4 separate regions of the Homo sapiens genome follow, and all the other regions are linked to region 2. Evidence: promoter capture Hi-C in 16 types of primary human blood cells and fetal thymus (Javierre and others, 2016). All regions are on one chromosome and are shown on one strand. The core of a region is centred on a gene start or on the middle of the fragment in contact, and the rest is flanking DNA. Distances in the headings are between cores, read along the strand shown.

Region 1 (4,468 bases), core at 1,233-3,732, 1.6 Mb before region 2:
CCCCAAACCCAAACTCCAGTCCAATGATTAGAAAAACACCAAACAAATCCCAACTGAGGAACGTTCTACAAAATACCTAATTAGTACTCCTGAAAACATCAAGGCTATCAAAAACAATAAAAGTCTGAGAAATTTTCACAACCAAGAGGGGTATAGAAGACATGATGATTACATTTAATGTGCTATTTCGAATGGGACTGTCCAACAGAAAAAGGACATTAGGCAAAAATGAAGAAAATCTGAATAAAATATGGGCTTTAGTTAATAATAATGTATCAATATTTGTTCATTGATTGTGACAAAGATACCATTCTAATGTAAGATATTAACAATAGAGAAACTAGGTGTGGGATATATAGGAGTACTCTGTTCTATCTTCACAGTTTTTCTGTAAATCTAAAACTACACAAAAATAAAAAGTTGATTTTTAAAAATTGGCTTCTATGTTATAGACACCCTTAACAACACTAAAAGACAAAATCAAAACAATGATGTACTATTTTCAGATACCAGATTGACCAAAATGTAAAACTGTTTGGAAAAAATGGGTTCTTTCATGGAAGTGTAAATCGATAGGAGCTTTTTAAAGGGCAGTTGCTCTCAGAATGTTAAAATGTGTATTCCTAGGTATCTAGAGAACGACTACTTTCACATATGCAAAAAAGGGCATGCACAAGGGTTTCCTAAAGCATCATTAAACCTAACTTCTATCAAAAAGGAAATGATTAAATAAGCTATGGAATAGTCATATTTAGAACACCGTATTTCGGCCGGGCGCAGTGGCTCACGCCTGTAATCCCAGCATTTTGGGAGGCAGAGGCGGGCGGATCACGAGGTCAGGAGATCGAGACCATCCTGGCTAACACGGTGAAACCCTGTCTCTACTAAAAATACAAAAAATTAGCCGGGCGTAGTGGCGGGCGCCTGTAGTCCCAGCCACTCAGGAGGCTGAGAGAGGAGAATGGCGTGAACTCGGGAGGCGGAGCTTGCAGTGAGCCGAGATCGCGCCACTGCACTCCAGCCTGGGCCACAGAGCGAGACTCGGTCTCAAAAAAAAAAAAAAGAACACTGTATTTCATTAACTCGAGGATGTGACCCGCTATAGCCTTCGTTATTTCATACATCATTAAGAAAGAAAAATGATCCTAATTAAGCTATGACACAAAGCTTTCTTGCCATTTATAATTTTTATTTTATACTTATTGAAAAAGCTAATTAAGGCTTAAGACATCTTTAGTTCCATATTATCCTTATGCATAAATTAAAAGGATTCATGAAATAAATTGATTACCATATAGCTAAATCCTCTTCTCAGAGTCTGAACCTTCTGTATAATGTTTAGACTCAGAATCATCAATATGCCAGGCTGCTAACCTCCATTCTGCAAGTTTTGATGCATACCCAGCAGGCAATGACAACCACATCACTATTGCTGCCTTGCTAGCTGACAGCAACTGTAAGATGCATACCAATCTGAGAGATCATAAAATGTGAATAAAAAAGTGTGCCTTAGAAACAAGAGTATTTTGCAGCAGCTAAAGGAACTGAGGAATTCTAATTCATATTGCTAAGAAAAAATAGCAAGTTGCAAAAAATAATATGCAGTATAAGCACATTTATGGAAAAAAGCAAAATAAACCTCTATGTTTGTGGGACATTCCCTGAAAATTTGGCTACTCAAATTTTCTTCCTTTTTTTTTTTTTTTTTTTTTTTTTTTTTGATACAAAGCCTCTCTCTGTCTCCCAGGCTGGAGTGCAGTGGCGCGATGTCGGCTCACTGCAACCTCCGCCTCCCGGGTTCAAGCGATTCTCCTGCCTCAGCCGCCGGAGCAGCTGGGACCACAGGCTCGCACCACCATGCCCGGCTAATTTTTTTGTATTTTTAATGGAGATGGGGTTTCACTATATTGGCTAAGCTGGTCTCAAACTCCTGACCTCAGGTGATCCGCCCACTTTGGCCTCCCAAAGTGCTGGGATTACAGGCATGAGCCACCACATCCGGCCTCAAATTTTCTGTACTTGAAAATTCTATACTTTAGATACTTGAAATTACCTTTCAAGTATCTATAGAATGGCATGATAAGGGGGACCTCACAGCTCCCCTTTATTGTGCCATTCTATACTTTAGACACTTGAAAAGTAACTTTCCCAGACTCCTGTTGAGAGGTCAACTTGATAAAATTCCTGTCAATGAGTAGCAGGCGGGTATTCCCTTAGGCTCCTTTTCTTGAATGAAAATATAAAACTTCACAAGAAGATGACTTTTGGCTTTTCTTATCTAGTACATGCACACAATTCCTCGAGAAGCAGCAATCATCTTATGACCACAAGGACAAAAGTCACATGCTGGGAGTGGTAAACTGAAAGATAGAAGGACCCTAAGCGCCTGAGAGCATTGTTGAGCTGAGCTGCCATGCACTCCCGCTGTGCGCTGCCTGCTCCTGGGCTTCTTTCCTCTCCTTTTCTTTGTGTGGTAAAATATACATAAAATTTACCATTTTAACCATTTTTTGGTTTTGTTTTGGTTTTGAGGTCTTGCTCTGTCGCCCAGGCTGGAGTGCAGTGGCGCGATCTCGGCTGACTGCAACCTCTGCCTTCCGCGTTCAAGCGATTCTCTTGCCTCAGCCTCCTGAGTAGCTGGGATTACAGGTGCGCGCCACCACGCCCAGCCAATTTTTGTATTTTTAGTAGAGACGGGGTTCCACCACGTTGGTCAGGCTGGTTTCGAACTCCTGACCTCGTGATCCACCCGCCTCGGCCTCCCAAAGTGCTGGGATTACAGGCGTGAGCCACTGCGCCCGGCCCATTTTAACCATTTTTAAGTGTACAGTTCAGTGGCATTAAGTGCATTCACATGGCTGTGCAACCATTTTCACCATCCATCCAGACGTTTTCATCATCCTCAACTCTGCACCTGTTAAACACTAACTCCTCATTTCTGCCCTACCTGCAGCCTCAGGTAACCATTATTCTATTCATCTGTCTTTGTGTATAATATTTGACTATTCCAGATACTTCATGTAACTGGAATCATACAACATGTGTTCTTTTGTGTATGTTTTTTTTCACTTAGCATAGTGTCTTCAAGGTTTGTCCATGTTGTAACTTGCATCAGAATTTCACTCTTTTTAAAGGCTGAATAAGGTTCCGTATATACCACATTTTGTTTATCATTTATACGGGGACATTTGATTTGTTTCCCCCGGGCTTTTGTTTGTTTGTTTTGTTTTTTCAGGGTTTTACTCTGTTGCCCAGGCTGGAGGGCAGTGGGGCGATCACTGCTCGCTGCAGCCTCAACCTCCCAGGCTCAAGCGATCCTCCAACCTCATGATAATGGTTATAATAGCACTTGCCATTTACTGGGCTTTTTCTGCGTACCAGGCAGTGCGCTAAGCCCTTGATACATACGACGTCATTTAATCTTCACAAAATCCCTGTGATGCACACAACTACAATCAACTACATTTGATACAGGTAGCGATTGAAACTTGGACAGATAACTTGCCCAAGGCCACACACAGTCACACCAGACACTGGAATCTGGATCTGTCTCACTGCAAAGCAGCAATTCTTGACCACTAAAGTAATTGAAAAAAAAAAAAAGCAAAATCAATAGACTCGATGTGAGCAGTAAAAGACGCATCGTGTGTAAACTAAGGTCAGTCTCTGACGGGTTCTCTTTGAGTACCCCCGGGACACCCACTAAACGGCCCCAAGAGCGCTAACCCCACAGAGCCCTAGAGGTTTTCCTGCTCCTATCCCATCCACGTTTTCCTCGTCACTGCAGTCTAAGCTTCGCGAGCTCCTCCCCTTCTTCGCCACTGGCTCCTCCTACGCAAGCGCACTGTGACCCGGAACTTGACTACCGTTCAGCGTGTCTCCCAGAGCTGCTGCGCTGGAGCTGAGGGAGCGCGCAGAGCGGGGCGGTTGGGCGGGGCCTCTGTGTAAGCTGCGGGGCTTCGCGGGCTTTGGGTTGGGGAATGAATGGCGTGGACCGTACTTGTCAAATGGAAGGAGTCGCAAAAATTTCGATTGCACAAGTGTTTCATCCATCCCTCCATTTACTCCAGAAGTCTGTACAATGTCAATGACTGCTGTGTGCTGGCACCCACCTGGCACAACGACTGTGCTCCCTGCGTACCCGCACTTGATGGATACAGCAGTTCATGAAGGAAATGGGGACTAGGGGATGTGAAAGATGTTCCTGGAACCTCCCTCCTTGCTCACAGCCCCCATTTCCCTATCCCCTCACCCCACCACCAAAATTCATATAGGAGATGTCGGTATCTAGCAGGAATGGCACCAGGTTGTCTCTAGGGTTACCATTCCATGCTCCTCTGTTATCCAGAGGACCCGTACTTACCCCATGCGCATTCATCTGAGGGTCATGTAATGGCCTTTTTTAGTGTCAATGTCCTCCTAAGACTGTATGATCTAGGATGGTAGAGACAAGGTCTTGCTCACACTT
Region 2 (4,564 bases), core at 1,301-3,800:
AGAGAACCCCATACCCACACTGTGAACTTATGATCTGCCATTCAGGTTTCTCAGGCAAAATCTCAAGACCCTGATTAGCTCCTGGATGAACTGTAATAAAAGTGAGATGCCACAAAATACCCTGACCCTACTGACCACTCTGAAGTTACATCTCAAAGCCTGGCCCAACAGAGACCCACACAGCTCAGGCTCACCTTTCTCTCTGGCTGGGTAAGAATAACCCAACAGGCCTTGCTGCAGGAATTAGAAGCAGGAGGCATTCACACTCCTTATCATGCTGGGTTTGGCTTAACTTCCAGGGTCAATGCAACAGCAGGATCTACAAGCAAATCCTGAGAGGACACAGGGCAGCTGCGTCACCATGGAGACAGGTTACCATAAGCCCCACAGATTGTCCACAGTGTTTCAAAGAGATATTCACAACCTGCGACAATAAAGGAAGTTGGATCCAGGAAAGAAAAACTACAACCAATCCCTGGATGACTCTCAAAAGCAACCTCTTGAGTACATTCTTGGCAACAGGGAAAGGTGAAAAAACTAAGATTTAAGCACACAGTGTGCTCCCAGGTATTGATGCTTTATTAATTCCTAAGTTGTGTTCTTTCCACTCACTTTTATGTAGAATGCATGGAGACTCACTTTTATGAGTTTCCTATTTCGCAAACGAAGGGAAACCAAGGCTCTGAGAGGCTAAGCAGCTTGCCAGAGATCACAGAAGTGACGAGCAAAAGAACCAGGATTTTATCTCCCCTGGGCTGGATTTAATCTGAAGCTGGGTATAACCTGAAAGCTTCCCCTCCACCTTGCCTCAGCGGGCACCCTCGGGGTTTCGAGGAGCTAAACATGCGTTAGGCTGGTGAGTGGAGGAACTACTATCAATCCCAACAAAGTTTTATTCAAAAAGACTAACAGTGAAAAATGCCTCAGGCAGAAGCATGAGGCTAGGCATGAGGAGATCCCCAAAACAGGGAAGACAGTGGAAACAGTGGGGCAGAGGTGGGGCATCCTCATTCCATCATTCATGGTCTCTCTGGCCAAGGTACCATGGAGCAGGCCCCTAAAATCCTGAGATCAGCATGGTGCCAAGTGGGCCAGAAGGGCCATAGTCCCTCCAGACCAGTCCTACCACATTCCAGCTGAGGGGCCTTGGGTGGGTCACCTATCCTTTCCGAACCTATTTCCACACCTGTAAAGCAGGAATGGCTTGAAGGGGAGAGGAGTGGCAGGTGCCTGGTGCACACGGCAGGCTGCCACCACCAGCTCCAATGGGAACCCCCTCTCTGAGTCCTCTTTTCCTCAAAGTCTGTAAGGAAGGGGCTCAAAAAAGGACTTGGAAGATCCCTGACACTTCGAAGAAAAAGTGAGAGCCCGGGAGGCCCAGCGGCAAAGGTGGCAGCAGCCACCTGTCCTTCCTCCTGCTGCCAGCGTGTGCCCTGGATCCCCACCTAGGCAGGGGCGCAACCTGCCCAGCCAGTAGCTCCAACAGGAACTAGGCCTCTGACCACGCTGGCTCCAGTCCAGCACCACCCACAGGAGTGAGCTGGGGTGGATCACGGCCAGAAGGAGCCCTTCCCACCCCGTGCCCCTTCCCGCCTTCCTCCACCCAAAGCTCAGAAATCCAATGCCCAGGGAGAGCACAAGGAGGCTTTCTAGCGCTGAGGGGGCCTTACAGCCATCTTTCGCTTCACCTGTGGGGCGCTCCCTCGCATCTTGTTTGTCCCTTAGGCCCTGGCACACACAGAGAATGAATGGAGCCGGTCACCGCCCGGAGGAGTTGTCAGTTTCGCGGAGGCACTGCGAGGCGGGCAGAGCGGGGTTGTCCTTTGGGTGCTGGGGGGTCCTCGCCTTAAACCCTTCTGCTTAGCCCTGACCCTCACCTTTTCAGGGAGATGATAACTTCTCAAGGAGAAGGGAGCTAAGAGATCACTAACAGACTTGCCAATTTCTGGTAATTTTTTTTCTACTTTCGTCTTTTTTACTTTCTTGCCTCCCCGCCCCCATGTGAGCTCTTACACTATCGTCTTCGGAGAAAGACTCAATAAGACGCGCCATCCTGGAGACCCCAGCTCCCCGCCCTGCCACTGCTCTGATGGAGAAACTGAGGCCCGGGGCTCTGAGGGCGGGCTTCCTCCCCAGAGCTGTGCACTCACAGCGGGTTCCAGCGCTCGGGCAGGCGGCGGTGCAGTGAGATGCGGTCGCTGAGGTAGATGTTAATCTGGTGCAGCCGCACGCTCTCCTCCTGCAGCCGCAGCTCCTCGCCCTGCAGCTGCAGCCGCACCGCCTCGCCCCGCGCGCCCAGCGCGTTCGCCGGCACCGGCGGCCGCGGCATGACCGGCTCGCGCCGCCCGGGGCGCGGGGTGCGCGGGGGTCCCGGCTCGGCAGCCCCGGCCCCGGCCCCACGCTGCGCCCGCAGCACCGAGCCCAGCCCGGCCAACGCCAGTAGCGCCAGGAGCACCAACAGCGCCTCCCGGCCGCGCCGCAGTTCCCGCGGGCAGCGCCGCCGCGCCGTGCGCCCCCACATGCGCCCGCCAACTGCAGCCAGCGATCTGCGCGCCCCAAGGCGGCGGTGGAGGCCAGGACCCGGATCCCGGAACCGCCGTGCCGCCCCGCCCCCGGCCCGCCCCACCTGCGCGCCGCCCCCTTTCCGTCCAGCCCCGCGCCAGCCCAAGCGCAGCCCCCGGGGTGGCTCATTTCGGCAGGGTCTTCAAGTGGGCTGGCTGAGACTTGCATCTTCCTTCTTGGGCTATGGTGCATTATTAAAGAGATAGTGGTGGTAAAACCCTTAGCGCCTGGCATATTGTAGGCGCTAAGTGTTGGCTGAATACACCCTGCAGGGTGTTATGAATTCTACTGCCATTATCTCATCTGATCTTTACACAGTCCAATAAAACAACCATCAACTAGGATTACGAGCTCCCTTTTACAGATGAGGAGATGGAGGTGCGATGAGATCAACAGACACCACGCTGCCCCACTGACTTCTGCAGGCCCAGCCTCTGCCATACTCTTTGGAGTCCTTGAATAGCAAACCCTCGCCTGGCTCGCCTCGTGATAGCTCTGTGACCTCTGAGGCTAGGAGCAAAAGGCCATGAAGGCTGTACATGATAGTTCACACCTGTAATCCCAGGCCGAGATAGGAGGATCACTTGAAGCCAGGAGCTTAAAACGAGACTGGTCAACATAGCAAGACTCCCATCTCTACAGAAAAATTTCAGAATTAGCCATGCATGGTGGCACGTGCCTATAGTGCCAGCTACTCAGGATGCTGAAGCAGGAGGATTGTGTGAGCCCAGGAATTGGAGGTTACCGTGAACTATGCGCCACTGCGCTGCAGCCTGGATGACAAAGCGAGATCCTGTTTCTATTAAACAACAACCAAAAAAGGCCATGAAGCTGCCGCCCTGTTCATGAGATCACTGCTGTGGGAGCCTTGAGCTGCCAGGGACGAAGTAAGTCTAATGGAGTAGACAAATATTAAAAAGATAATTAGAATTGTGTTAAGTATTTTGAAGAAGAATTACAGGGCGCTAAAAGGGCTTAGAATAGTAGAACTTGATCTAGTTTGGGGGTTTTGGAAAGCTTCTCTGATGAAGTAATGTCTACACAGATATCTGAATGTAAAAGTGATAGCAGAGATTTCAAATCATATCTTAAATTAATCTGGAACTCCCTCTGCTGGTGTCTAGCTCAGGGAAAAGAATCATTCTGTATCCCCTGTAGAAGGATAGAGTGTAAGCTCTATTTGTTGTTGTTTGTTTTACCATGGGAAGTTGGTCCAAAGCTTTTTATCAAATATTCTCAAGGAGACCAGAAGCCCAGAAAGTTTAAAAAGCACAAATCTGGTCCAATTATCTCATTGATAAATGCGGGGTCTGAGACACAGGGTGGGGAGAGGACCTTGAACTTGGCGGCTCAGGTAGAGGTAGAATCTGACTTGCTGTTGTCTTCATACAGCCTTTGGCTACTGGTATCCCCAGAGGAAATCTCCCTCAGGTTGCAGGAGGGGGGTGGGTTTTGGGATGAACCATGCAAAGCAGCTCCCACTCAGGACAACCTGCTGCTAATATTAGACTAGAGGGAAGTGGCTCTTCCCACAGTGCTCAGGGCCCCGCCTGCTTCCCACGCAGAATGGAGGCTGCTGGTTAATGCCAGAAGGCGGTTGTGTTAGGTAGGTCTGGACCTGAGCCCTTTGGCCTCTGTTCAGACACCCAACACATTTAAGATCTGCGGTCAGATTAGAAAACAGACAAGGATTACAATTCATAATGTCTTGGATCCGCTTGCCAAATTGGAATGCTTCTCAATAGAGGTTCAGATACAGAGAAAAGAGAAATGCAATTAGGCCTTACAAGACATGGACTTAAGCCCCAGGTAACAGATAAAAGCTATTGTTTACTGAGCACACACTGTGTGCTGTAAACTGCTGGACTTTCTTTTTCATGTACTTTCTCATTTCACCCTATGACAACCTTGCAAGGTTGACAGATGAGAATATGTAGGCTCAAGAAGTGAAGCAACTTGCCCAAGGTTACACAACATGCAAGCGGTAGAGGGAGGATTTGTA
Region 3 (4,459 bases), core at 735-3,234, 1.1 Mb after region 2:
GCCCTCAATGGTCTTGAAGTAATGGCTCATCTCTGACCTGGGGTCCCTTCTTCTACAGGTGCTCCTGGATTTTACTCTCCAGCTTCCAGTTCTTGGCCTCCAGGCTCCTCATTCTGTCCAGGTAGGAGGCCAGGCAGTTGTTCAGGTTTTGCACGGTCTCCTTCTTGTTCTGGATGCCTCTCATTCCTGCCAGACCCCTGGCCATCCCCGCGGCCAGGCCCCCGGAACCCATGCTGCTCAGGTAGCTGGTGGAGCGGGACATGGAGATCCGGGAACCAGAGCCCCCGTGCCTGTACAGACGCTGGCTATGCTGCTGACCAGCCGGACACCGTAGCTGGGTGCCTGGACAGAACCCAGGGACCGGTAGTTGGTGGAGAAGGTGGAGCGAGTGGTGAAGCTTATGCTGTCCAGGGAGGAGAGTGAGAGGACAGGACTCAGGCTTTGCCGACGACTTTAATTTTTTTTTGAGACAAGATGTTATTGTGTTGCCCAGGCTGGAGTGTAGTGGTGCCATCACAGCTCACTGCAGCCTTGACCTCCTGAGATGGGTTCTTGTTACATTGCCCAGGTTGGTCTTGAACTCCTGGTCTCAAGCAATCCTCCTGTGTTGGCCTCCCAAAGGGCTGGGATTACAGACATGAGCCACTGCACCTTGCCAATTATTATTATTTTTTAATAGTGACAGGGTCTCACTGTGTTGCCTCAGCTTGTCTTGAACTCATGACCTCAAGTCATCCTCCTGCCTTGGCCTCCCAAACTGTTGAGATTACAGGTGTGAACCACTGTGCCCAGCCTAGTTTTTAATTTTAATGAAGTCCAGCTTTTTTTCTTTTGTTGCTTGTGCTTTTGATGTTATGGAATTTGAAATAGTTTCACCTGGGCAAGATTGATGGGTAGGGAGAAAGAAGGATCTGAGGGGAAGGGAGATGGGGATGGCTTGAGATTCTATCTCCAATTCAACCTAAGATTTCAGCAGGTAACTGCTTTATACGAGGTTTTGCAGCTTTATGTATATATGACCGATAAATTAGAACACTGAATTGTGTTTCTGAAAGGTTAACCATTGAACATTAGTGGGAAACATCAGTGTGTGAGGTTGTCTTTCTAAAAGCCAGTCCTAAATGGTACATGTAGTAATTAGAAGTTAATGTTTTCTGGTTTCAATTAAGCATTATTTGTAACAAAGGGAAAGCATACATTTTTGGGAAAGCCTGCTATGTTTCTTTTGTTACACTAGCCACACTTTTGGGAAGTCAGGATATTTGGCCCAGATCCAAACCCACTGTCTACCTGGCAGTAGCTCATCCTCACTGAAGGAATATTCCATGGGAAAGATAGCCAACCTTATGCATATCAGCCTTGGAGCAAGTCCTGCATTTGCCTGAGGTCACACAGCAAGTTAACTGGGAGTTTCAACCCAGGTCTTCTCATTTTAAATCTAAGGCTGTGTCTCTAGGCCGTGTATCCAACATAAAATCAGGACTATCATCTGTTGGGCTCTATGACTGGCACTACTACTACTCACTGTTACCATTTTTTGAGGTCTTCTACGTGCCAGGTTATTGTCCTGGCAATCTAATCCTCCCAAAGACTCGGTAAATGGTTCCATAATTATCCTCATTTTACCACTGAAGAAACTGAACTCTGGTTAAATAACTTGCCCAAGGTCACACAGACTTTAACTGTCAAGAGCTCAGACTTAACCCAGGCCTGACTCCAAAGCCTATACTCTGAATCACCAAGCGAGACCTATTTTAAAGGTGACCAGGTCGTGAGATATGATCTCAGCACGGACCCTTCTCCCGGATGACAAGAGAGCAGGTAGTTAGGCGGGTACTCCGTGTCCGCGCATACCCAGACTCCGCCCAGCGCCCGGGCAGGCCACCCCGAGCCCCTTAACTGCGCAGGCGCTCTCACTCAGAAAGGCCGCTGGGTGCGGGGAGCGCAGAGGCGGTGCAGGGCGGCTGGCTCGCCTCGGCGTGCAGTGCGCGTGCGTGGAGCTGGGAGCTAGGTCCTCGGAGTGGGCCAGAGATGGCGGCGGCCGACGGGGCTTTGCCGGAGGCGGCGGCTTTAGAGCAACCCGCGGAGCTGCCTGCCTCGGTGCGGGCGAGTATCGAGCGGAAGCGGCAGCGGGCACTGATGCTGCGCCAGGCCCGGCTGGCTGCCCGGCCCTACTCGGCGACGGCGGCTGCGGCTACTGGAGGTTTGGGCCGCGTCCGCGCTTTCCCCTTCCCTCTCCCCGCCTCCCCGGTCCCCAGACTGGCTCGTGCAAGCCGAGTCCCGGGGCCCGGGGGTCGCGTCAACTCCGCTGGCGTATGTGTGCAGATTCTCCCCGAGTCGGAGAGGGAATCCGCCCAGCCAGCCGCCTTGTCAAAGCGTCCTGTCCACGACCACAGAGCGTTCCTCTGTCGCACGCGGGCCTCCTGACCCCCAGCCCCGGGCCTTCTTCGCTGCACCTCGGCTGCTGGCAGCTTCGATTTTTCGTTTAGGGATGCAGCCGCCCCGGCCGGGAGGTGTCAGCCACTGCCAGGTGTCAGGGCCTCAGCTGTCCCGGAAAGAGGAGTTAGACTAGTTCTTGATTCTGGCCTCTATACCTAGAACTAGTTGATGGAAGAGGCAGATCTTGGTGTTTGTTAGGGAGAGCTTTCAACAATTAGAGTTGCCAAAAGTGCAATGGATTGCTTCTCATGAGCTTCCCGTTACTAGAAGCGCTCAAATAGGAACTGGAAGAACGCTTACTTATGTGGAGGAGAGGAGATTCAGCAATCAGAATCTCCTACTCAGCAATCAGAAGAAGGGACTGGATAGTAAACCTTTAAGATTCTAATCCATAGATTCCATGAGTCTATTTCTTGGACATGTGACCTCTGCGATTTCTTGGCAAAAACTAGTTGCTCAAAACGTGTTTATTGATTGAAGTAAATTAAGGACTGATCTCTCATTGCAGATTATTCTCTTATAGAATTTGCCACTGGGGTCAACTAATAATCTTTAACAGGATACTTAAAATATAGTTTGGTTGACAGGCAGTTCTTCAGGGCTGCCTCTATAACATGAAGTACATGTGTTCCTAAAGCTCTATACTGCCCTTTGTCGAGCACAGTTTAGAGCTGTATTACTCTTTTTTATCAGCCAGATGTAGTGAGAGTGAGAAGAGTCTGAGGCTGGCAGCATGTCTTGATGTTCATACTAACACCGAAACTGCAAATTCCAGCTACTTTTGATGGTACTGGTCTCATCCTTTCTACTTTATAGTGGTTACCTTTTATTCCTTTCTAAACTTGAGGCACGCTAGAGTCAGACAGAAAGTTCATTTGCACTGATTAATTCATAGTCATGATTCCATAAAGGTTTCCAGGTCTACGACATGGCTGTGGAACGGAAGGTGCAAAATAGCAAAAACTGACATTAAATTAAACTTTTGATCATGGAAAGCAAGGTAGAATGAACATTCTTTAAGATTTCTTAGGCAGTTCCCCAAGAACTGAACTGTATTGTAGCATTGTGTACAACCCACCATGTTTCAAGAGTTAGGTAAGTGCTGAGATTTTTATCTTTGTGACACTTTTATTTCATGGTACTATACAATTTTCTTTTTCTCTGTGTGCCATGACATATGCCATGAAAGACTGAAAAAACTTGCTTAGAATACGAAGAGTGGTGCTAAGGTCCTGGGGAAACAGCAAGGCATAGCAGCAGAGAGAAATCGGACTTTGTTTTGGGCATGAGTTAGCATTGTTTAGGATCCTGCTCAAGTCATGGGCTCGACTACTCCAGCTTTCCCTCTTCTTAATTCTCATTGTGTTTACTGTCATTCCATTCATTTACTTTGCTATTTATATTACATATTCTGGTAGGTTCATTCATTTCTATCCATCCAGTTGGTACTCATGGAATGTTTACTATTTGTCAGAAGTATACAAGTAAAGGCACTCAGTCTAATGAAGGGATACAGAGAGATGAACAGGCATTATAGTGTGAGAATTGCTGTTAACAGTGGAAACAAGTTTATAATCTAATCCTTTCATTTAATAGAGGGAGAAATTGAGGCCAGAGAAGGGGAGTGACTGTAGCAGAATAAAACATATTAATCTGTCTTAATAAATGGAGGTGTAACATACTGTAAAATGTACTCATCTGAATTTTACCTATGTGAATGCTTGTGTAAACACCATCGTGATCAAGACATGTACACTTCCGGAACCTTAGAAGTTTTCCTATTGCGCCTTCCTAGTCGGTGTCCACTCTCTACTCTCAGAAGTAATACTCTTCTGACCATTTGATTGGTATTACCTATTTCCAAACTTCATGTACATTGAGTCATACAGTATCTGGCTTTTTTTGCGCAACATAGTATCTGAGAGATTCACACATTTTGTTGCGTGCATTGGTAGTTTGTGCATTTAGATGTTGTATAGATTCTTTTGTATTATGCCACAATTTTTTCCATTTTCCTTTT
Region 4 (4,954 bases), core at 1,853-4,352, 1.0 Mb before region 2:
GACGGCGTTAGCGGCTGATGGGACGAGCGGAGGCAGGTCCCCTGCACCCAGAGGGCGGTGTCTTCGAGGGTGGGCGGCTTGGAGGCTCCTGGCCACCCAGCGGCCTAGCGGGGGCACATTCCTGAGGGCGCCGAGCGCAGCTCCGGGACCAGCGTCTCAGCCCACAGCCTCAGCGAAACTTTGTAGCTGAAAGCGCAGCTCAGCAGGCCTCAGGGAAGGAACTGGGTGCCCAAACTCCGGCCTATAGCGCCCCCTTTGCCCGGGGTGGGCGCAGCTCGAAGAGTGGGAACAGGGACCGAAAAACCCCAAATCAAACCAAACCAAAAACCTCCGAGGTGCGCGGGGCCACGAGGGTCATCTCCTGGCGCCCCTGAGCCCGGGGCTTGCCTGCAGGAAGAGAGAAAGGGACTCGGGGCTCCCAGGTCCAGGAAACCCTCGACGACCAGGAAATGGGGGATTCCCTTGCCACCCCCAGCCCCAGCTGGAGCTGCTCGGACGGAAAGCTTGCGCTCGATGTAGCGCGGGTAGAAGCGGATCTTCCCACGGCTGTAGCACGTGCTTCCCGTCTCCCCGCATCTTCAATGGGGGTCTCCAGCAATCCCCCACCCGCCCCTTCAGTGGGTGCCCGCATTCCCGTCCCGCATTCCCTGAGGGCCTTTCAAGCGGAGTCGTTCTCTGAGAGGAGGCCTCAGAACTCGGGTGGGCGGGGACCGCCTCTCCCCAACGAAGGAGTTCCCCTCGAGCGCCCAGCGTTCGCGGGAGGGACCCACACAGCCTTTCCTCCAGCCCAGCCCAGCGCCCCGCCGCTCTCTCCACCCCACAAGCGGCCGGTTACCTAGGCAAAGCCTCAGTGCCTGGAAACACGTTCCGCCGCTCCTGCTTGCGGCCGCCGGGGCCGGGAGCACAGAGCCTTGGGGTTGTAAATTAGGAAGAAATAACTACCTCTGTCAAAGCCCCTTTCTTTCTCGTGGGCAGACGAAAGGAACACCCCCGTGTTCCCCTCCCGGTGGTGAAGTGTGTGGAGGAAACCGTGAAACGCACCATTGTGACCGGGGCTCCTCTGCGGAGTTTCCAACCCTGGGGAGCGGGGGCGGAGGTTGGGCGGGGGCAAGAGGAGCGAGGGAGAGACTGACAGAAAGGGAAAGACTGAGATTCTCAGAAAGACCGAGGGAGACTAGACAAACCGCGGGGAAGAATTTCTGTGAGCGCACGGTCCCAGGCAAAGGGGTGGATGGGTGCCGGGGGGTGGGGGGCGGAGCGGACGTGGAGGTTGCTGTGGCCTAAGGAGGCTTTGATACTAACTCTGCGAGCATCTTGTTCAGCGAAAATAACTCGAATAAAGTAACTTCATTCATTGTGCCCATCAGCCACGTTAGGCAGCTTTTTCTTTCCCTAACTTGATTCTATAAAATATTTCCCGGTCGTGGGAAAAGGAGATCCGGCACTGGACTCGCGATGGAATGACGGCTCCCTGTTCTTCTCTCCCAGCACCACAAGGCCCTGGGATCACAGCCCGACATTTCTGATTACTAACTCCTCGCAGCTCTTCCCTCTGGAGAATCCGGACGCATAAATAAATAAAAGGCAATCTCCAAGAACGTTTTTGGAAATCAAGGGACAAATGCGTTCTTCCTCACCACTGCCCCGAGGCTTCCAACAGGTTGGAGAGGTGCCTTTGGAAGTCAGTCTCCGCAGGCTGCGCTCGCATGACCGCTCTCGTCTCACCACCGAGAACTTTCATTTCTACTAAGAGTAAAACACTCGGAGCAACTTCTCCAAAAGCGCGAGTTCTGTCCGTGAAAAAGCATGCCTTTCCCACACCGAGCCAACGTCCAGAGGAGAGGGACACCGTCCCCACACGTGTCAGTGTGCGGGAGTCGCCAATTACACCCGATTTACCTCCTAAGGGAAAAGTGTAAACCGGCATGTCAGCGACGACAGGCAGACGTGCCTAGTGGAACCCCAGGCTCATTTCAATACAATAAGCCACATTCCTACAATTACGCCCTCTTTCCTGAGGTCCTCCGAGTGCGTCTGCAAACTCTGGCCGTCGCTGCCTAGGCCCTTCCCTCCTAAGCTTCCTTCCAGAGAACCAGCTCGGTGCCACCATTAGCAACATTTACTTGGACCCACCAGAGCTCCTATTTTCAATCCTACTTAAAAGGCAGGAAAATTACTGCCGTTCATCACCGGAGCTGCAACTCCCTGCCGCTGCCGCTGCCGCCGCCGCCGCCGCCGCCGAGAGCATCATTACCATGACAACTAGAGCCGAAATACCCTGAATTACATCGCTGGAGCCGCTATAGCACAAATCCCGGTCCTCCTCTTTGTTAGAGGCTTTTCGCCTCTTCGAGTGGGGGGAGGAATCCCACGAGCTCCAGAGATCCCCGCGGGCCCACTACAGGGGAAAAGTTTCAGATCAGAACCTACGGGCCGCTGGGCTAGCAAAGCCGGAGCCGGGCGGCAAGGTCAGGGGAGGGAACCCCACACTCAAAGTTGTCAATTTCAGGAGCGACGCTTCCCAGCAAGCCAACTTTTTTAGCAAGTCCCCTTATTAACTGGGCGAATCTCATACGTACTTGAGTGCTGTGGCGGTTCCGTCTTTAGAGCGAGTTTCTAGAGAGCTGTCCCGAAATCTGCACTGGGGGGGAGTCACAGCTGCTGTCCCGGAAGGGCTGCGGTGTACAAGCCCAGCGGCTCCCGGAGGCGGTGAGCGGCTGGTGGGGGATGCTGCGATCCCGACTCATGGGAGAGCACAGCCGAGAGGTTCCGCGGGCGTCCTGGCTTGGGCTGTGACCAGGGGGGAGGATGCCGCCGCTGTTCCCACCTCCACGGCCACTGCCGGCACCGTCAGCGTTGCAAAGTGAGCCCGGGAGGGGCGTCCAGCTGCGGCGCCGCGCTGCACCGGCAAGGGCTCAGGGCAAGAGGGGTGTGAGCGCGCGGGAGAGCGAAGTGTGTGTGCGGAGCCTGTGTGCGCGCTTGTGTCTGTGTGTGCGAGTGAGGGAGCGGGTGTGAGCGCGTCTGTGTATGGGGAGCGGAGGAGGAGCAGGAGCTGGAGGGGTGGGGGGCGGGAGGCAGGAGACTCCGCTCTCCCGGCTGCGCGTTCGCTCGCTCTCTCGGCACGTCATTTATGCCACAGGAGCCCTAGCGGCCTCTCCATAGAGTGCCTGGAATGCGAGACGTCAATGTGACGCCATGGGACGCTACGTCACCCTCCTCCTCCCTCCCCTGGCCCAGCCGGTTCCGCGTGTGCGAGGGAGGGTGTGTGTGTTCGTGTGCGCGCGCGCGCGCGCGCGTTCCTCGGCCAGTCGCACGGCCGCACAATGGAAACTCCGCCGCACGGCCGGCCCCGGCCTGGGGGCTTCTCTTTTTGCAGCGGAACCGCTCGCCAGGGCGTGCGTCTGCGGGAGGGTGCAGCGGCCTGCCCACGGGTCAGGCGGGACCGCCCAGCTGTCAGGCTCGGGTGGAGTAGAGTTGGAGGAGTGCTGCTGGCGCGCCTCCGAGGCTGCCCCGAGGCACGGAGCCAGGGCGAGGGGGGTAAGGGAGAGGACAGCTCTTCCGAAAGGGAAGGCTCCGCCAGCCAGCTTCTGACCAGCTCCAGTGACCTGGCAGCCGGTGCAGAAGGCGTCTGGCACCAGCCCGAAGACGCCCTGAGGTGCAGCTGCACTTTCCTCTTGCATAGGTTCTAAAGCTGTTTACGTTGCTCCGGTCCTCTGCGCCCAGGCTAATCCCCCCTCCCCGCATCATTTACTGGGTGCGTGTTTCACACAGGGATGCAGATGGTTCCGGGGATAAGGTTTGATTTCTTTACACGTACGGCGTGGGTTTCTTAACTGGACACGTTATAACCCAGCGAAGTGCACATCCATCATGCACACGCGCGCTGCAGCAGAAACTACTCTGTGTGTAAAACAAACACACACGTGTTGAACAGCTGAGCGGGTCTGACTATTGCAAATCATTCCTCCTCCCCGGCACCGGGTCAGAAATGGAACTCTCAACTAGCACTTTCACTTTTTGATGGTTGTAGATGCCCTCCGCCCACATCTCCCAAATTAAACATTTCGAAATCAATCAACAGGACTTATTAGTCAGTCCCTCGCTAGGGGATTTGCTTTGGTCTCCTCGGACACATTTGTCATGAAATGGTGTGCCGAAAGCCTGGGTGACTGTATGAAGGAGAGCAATTTCTTCCTGGAAATGATAAATTTAAGTGTAAATTTCTTGATGAAAACAAAATTTATCAGAGTTAAAGACCCCTAGTCCCAAAGGTTGCTGCTGAGTGAACGCAGTCTCTTTCAGAAATGAATTTTTGGACAGGAGAAAATATTTGAGTGAAACAATGCAGATAGAGTGGTCCCCATGTGGTCCGCTTGAATCACAAATACCGTTTTATATGTTTGACCTGTCCCAATTTGTGTGTGTGTGGCGGGGGCGGGGGGCGCTGCGCCGAGGGGAGATACAAGATTCCTTTGTAGACAGCACACATTTCAGAATCGAAGAAGGTTCGAGCTAGGACCAGAAACTTGAAAACAAACTACATATAGGTAAATATGGCATGTATATCTTTCTTCGCCTCCACTTCCAATTCAGACACGGTGGTGCGGAGAGGATCGTGGGAGAATGCCCCGAAAGTTGACCCAGCCGAGAGCAACCGAGTCTCTGCACTGCGGCGGGTTCCAATCCAGCCTCGGAAGGAAGGAGGGCGCTGCTACATTGTATCCATTCAAAGGCTTGAAGGGGGGGAGCAGGACCTGGAGCCGCGCGGCGCTGACGCACGCGAGGCGCGTGATTGACGCAGGCGATGTTACTAAATTCGGCGGTTGGCCGGGACCCGCCGCCGGCGCGCGCCGCAGATAGCGGAGTAGGTTCCCCTCGGTCACCCCCGCCCCTTCTCCATTCAACGCCGCGCGGGGCGGGGCAGGGCGCGCGGGGCGGGGCGGGGCGGGGCGGG

Evidence for each region. The method cuts DNA at HindIII sites, captures the fragments that hold promoters and counts their contacts. A CHiCAGO score of 5 or more calls a contact.
Region 1: a fragment that was not itself captured here is called in contact with the fragment with the promoter of GALNT12 in region 2 in 1 of 17 cell types (activated CD4 T cells); the score reaches 6.5 in activated CD4 T cells.
Region 3: a contact is called between the fragment with the promoter of XPA here and the fragment with the promoter of GALNT12 in region 2, in 2 of 17 cell types (total B cells and fetal thymus). The highest score is 6.6, in total B cells.
Region 4: a contact is called between the fragment with the promoter of NR4A3 here and the fragment with the promoter of GALNT12 in region 2, in 3 of 17 cell types (fetal thymus, non-activated CD4 T cells and naive CD8 T cells). The highest score is 5.9, in fetal thymus.

The regions. Positions count from the first base shown.
Region 1 is chr9:100,411,171-100,415,638 of GRCh38, reverse strand. No RefSeq gene overlaps it. Among named protein-coding and RNA genes, the nearest start is that of MSANTD3, 14 kb to the left of the region's middle. RefSeq lists a silencer at 3,918-4,007. The HindIII fragment of the contact is 2,626 bases long and covers 1,170-3,795 here.
Region 2 is chr9:98,805,656-98,810,219 of GRCh38, reverse strand. It overlaps GALNT12 (polypeptide N-acetylgalactosaminyltransferase 12), which reads right to left and starts at 2,550. Exons shown (of 10, transcript NM_024642.5): 1 at 2,151-2,550. The coding sequence starts at 2,521. LOC124902229 (a long non-coding RNA gene) reads left to right here and starts at 2,640. Exons shown (of 2, transcript XR_007061689.1): 1 at 2,640-3,449. RefSeq lists silencers at 2,409-2,478, 2,579-2,668. The HindIII fragment of the contact is 2,789 bases long and covers 793-3,581 here.
Region 3 is chr9:97,694,865-97,699,323 of GRCh38, reverse strand. It overlaps XPA (XPA, DNA damage recognition and repair factor), which reads left to right and starts at 1,984. Exons shown (of 6, transcript NM_000380.4): 1 at 1,984-2,203. The coding sequence starts at 2,032. It also overlaps the pseudogene KRT18P13. RefSeq lists a silencer at 1,823-1,922 and enhancers at 2,473-2,522, 2,533-2,592. The HindIII fragment of the contact is 4,221 bases long and covers 400-4,459 here.
Region 4 is chr9:99,820,033-99,824,986 of GRCh38, reverse strand. It overlaps NR4A3 (nuclear receptor subfamily 4 group A member 3), which reads right to left and starts at 3,102. Exons shown (of 8, transcript NM_006981.4): 1 at 2,580-3,102. RefSeq lists silencers at 287-336, 2,959-3,008, 4,890-4,954 and enhancers at 1,872-2,384, 4,787-4,954. The HindIII fragment of the contact is 5,731 bases long and covers 2,080-4,954 here.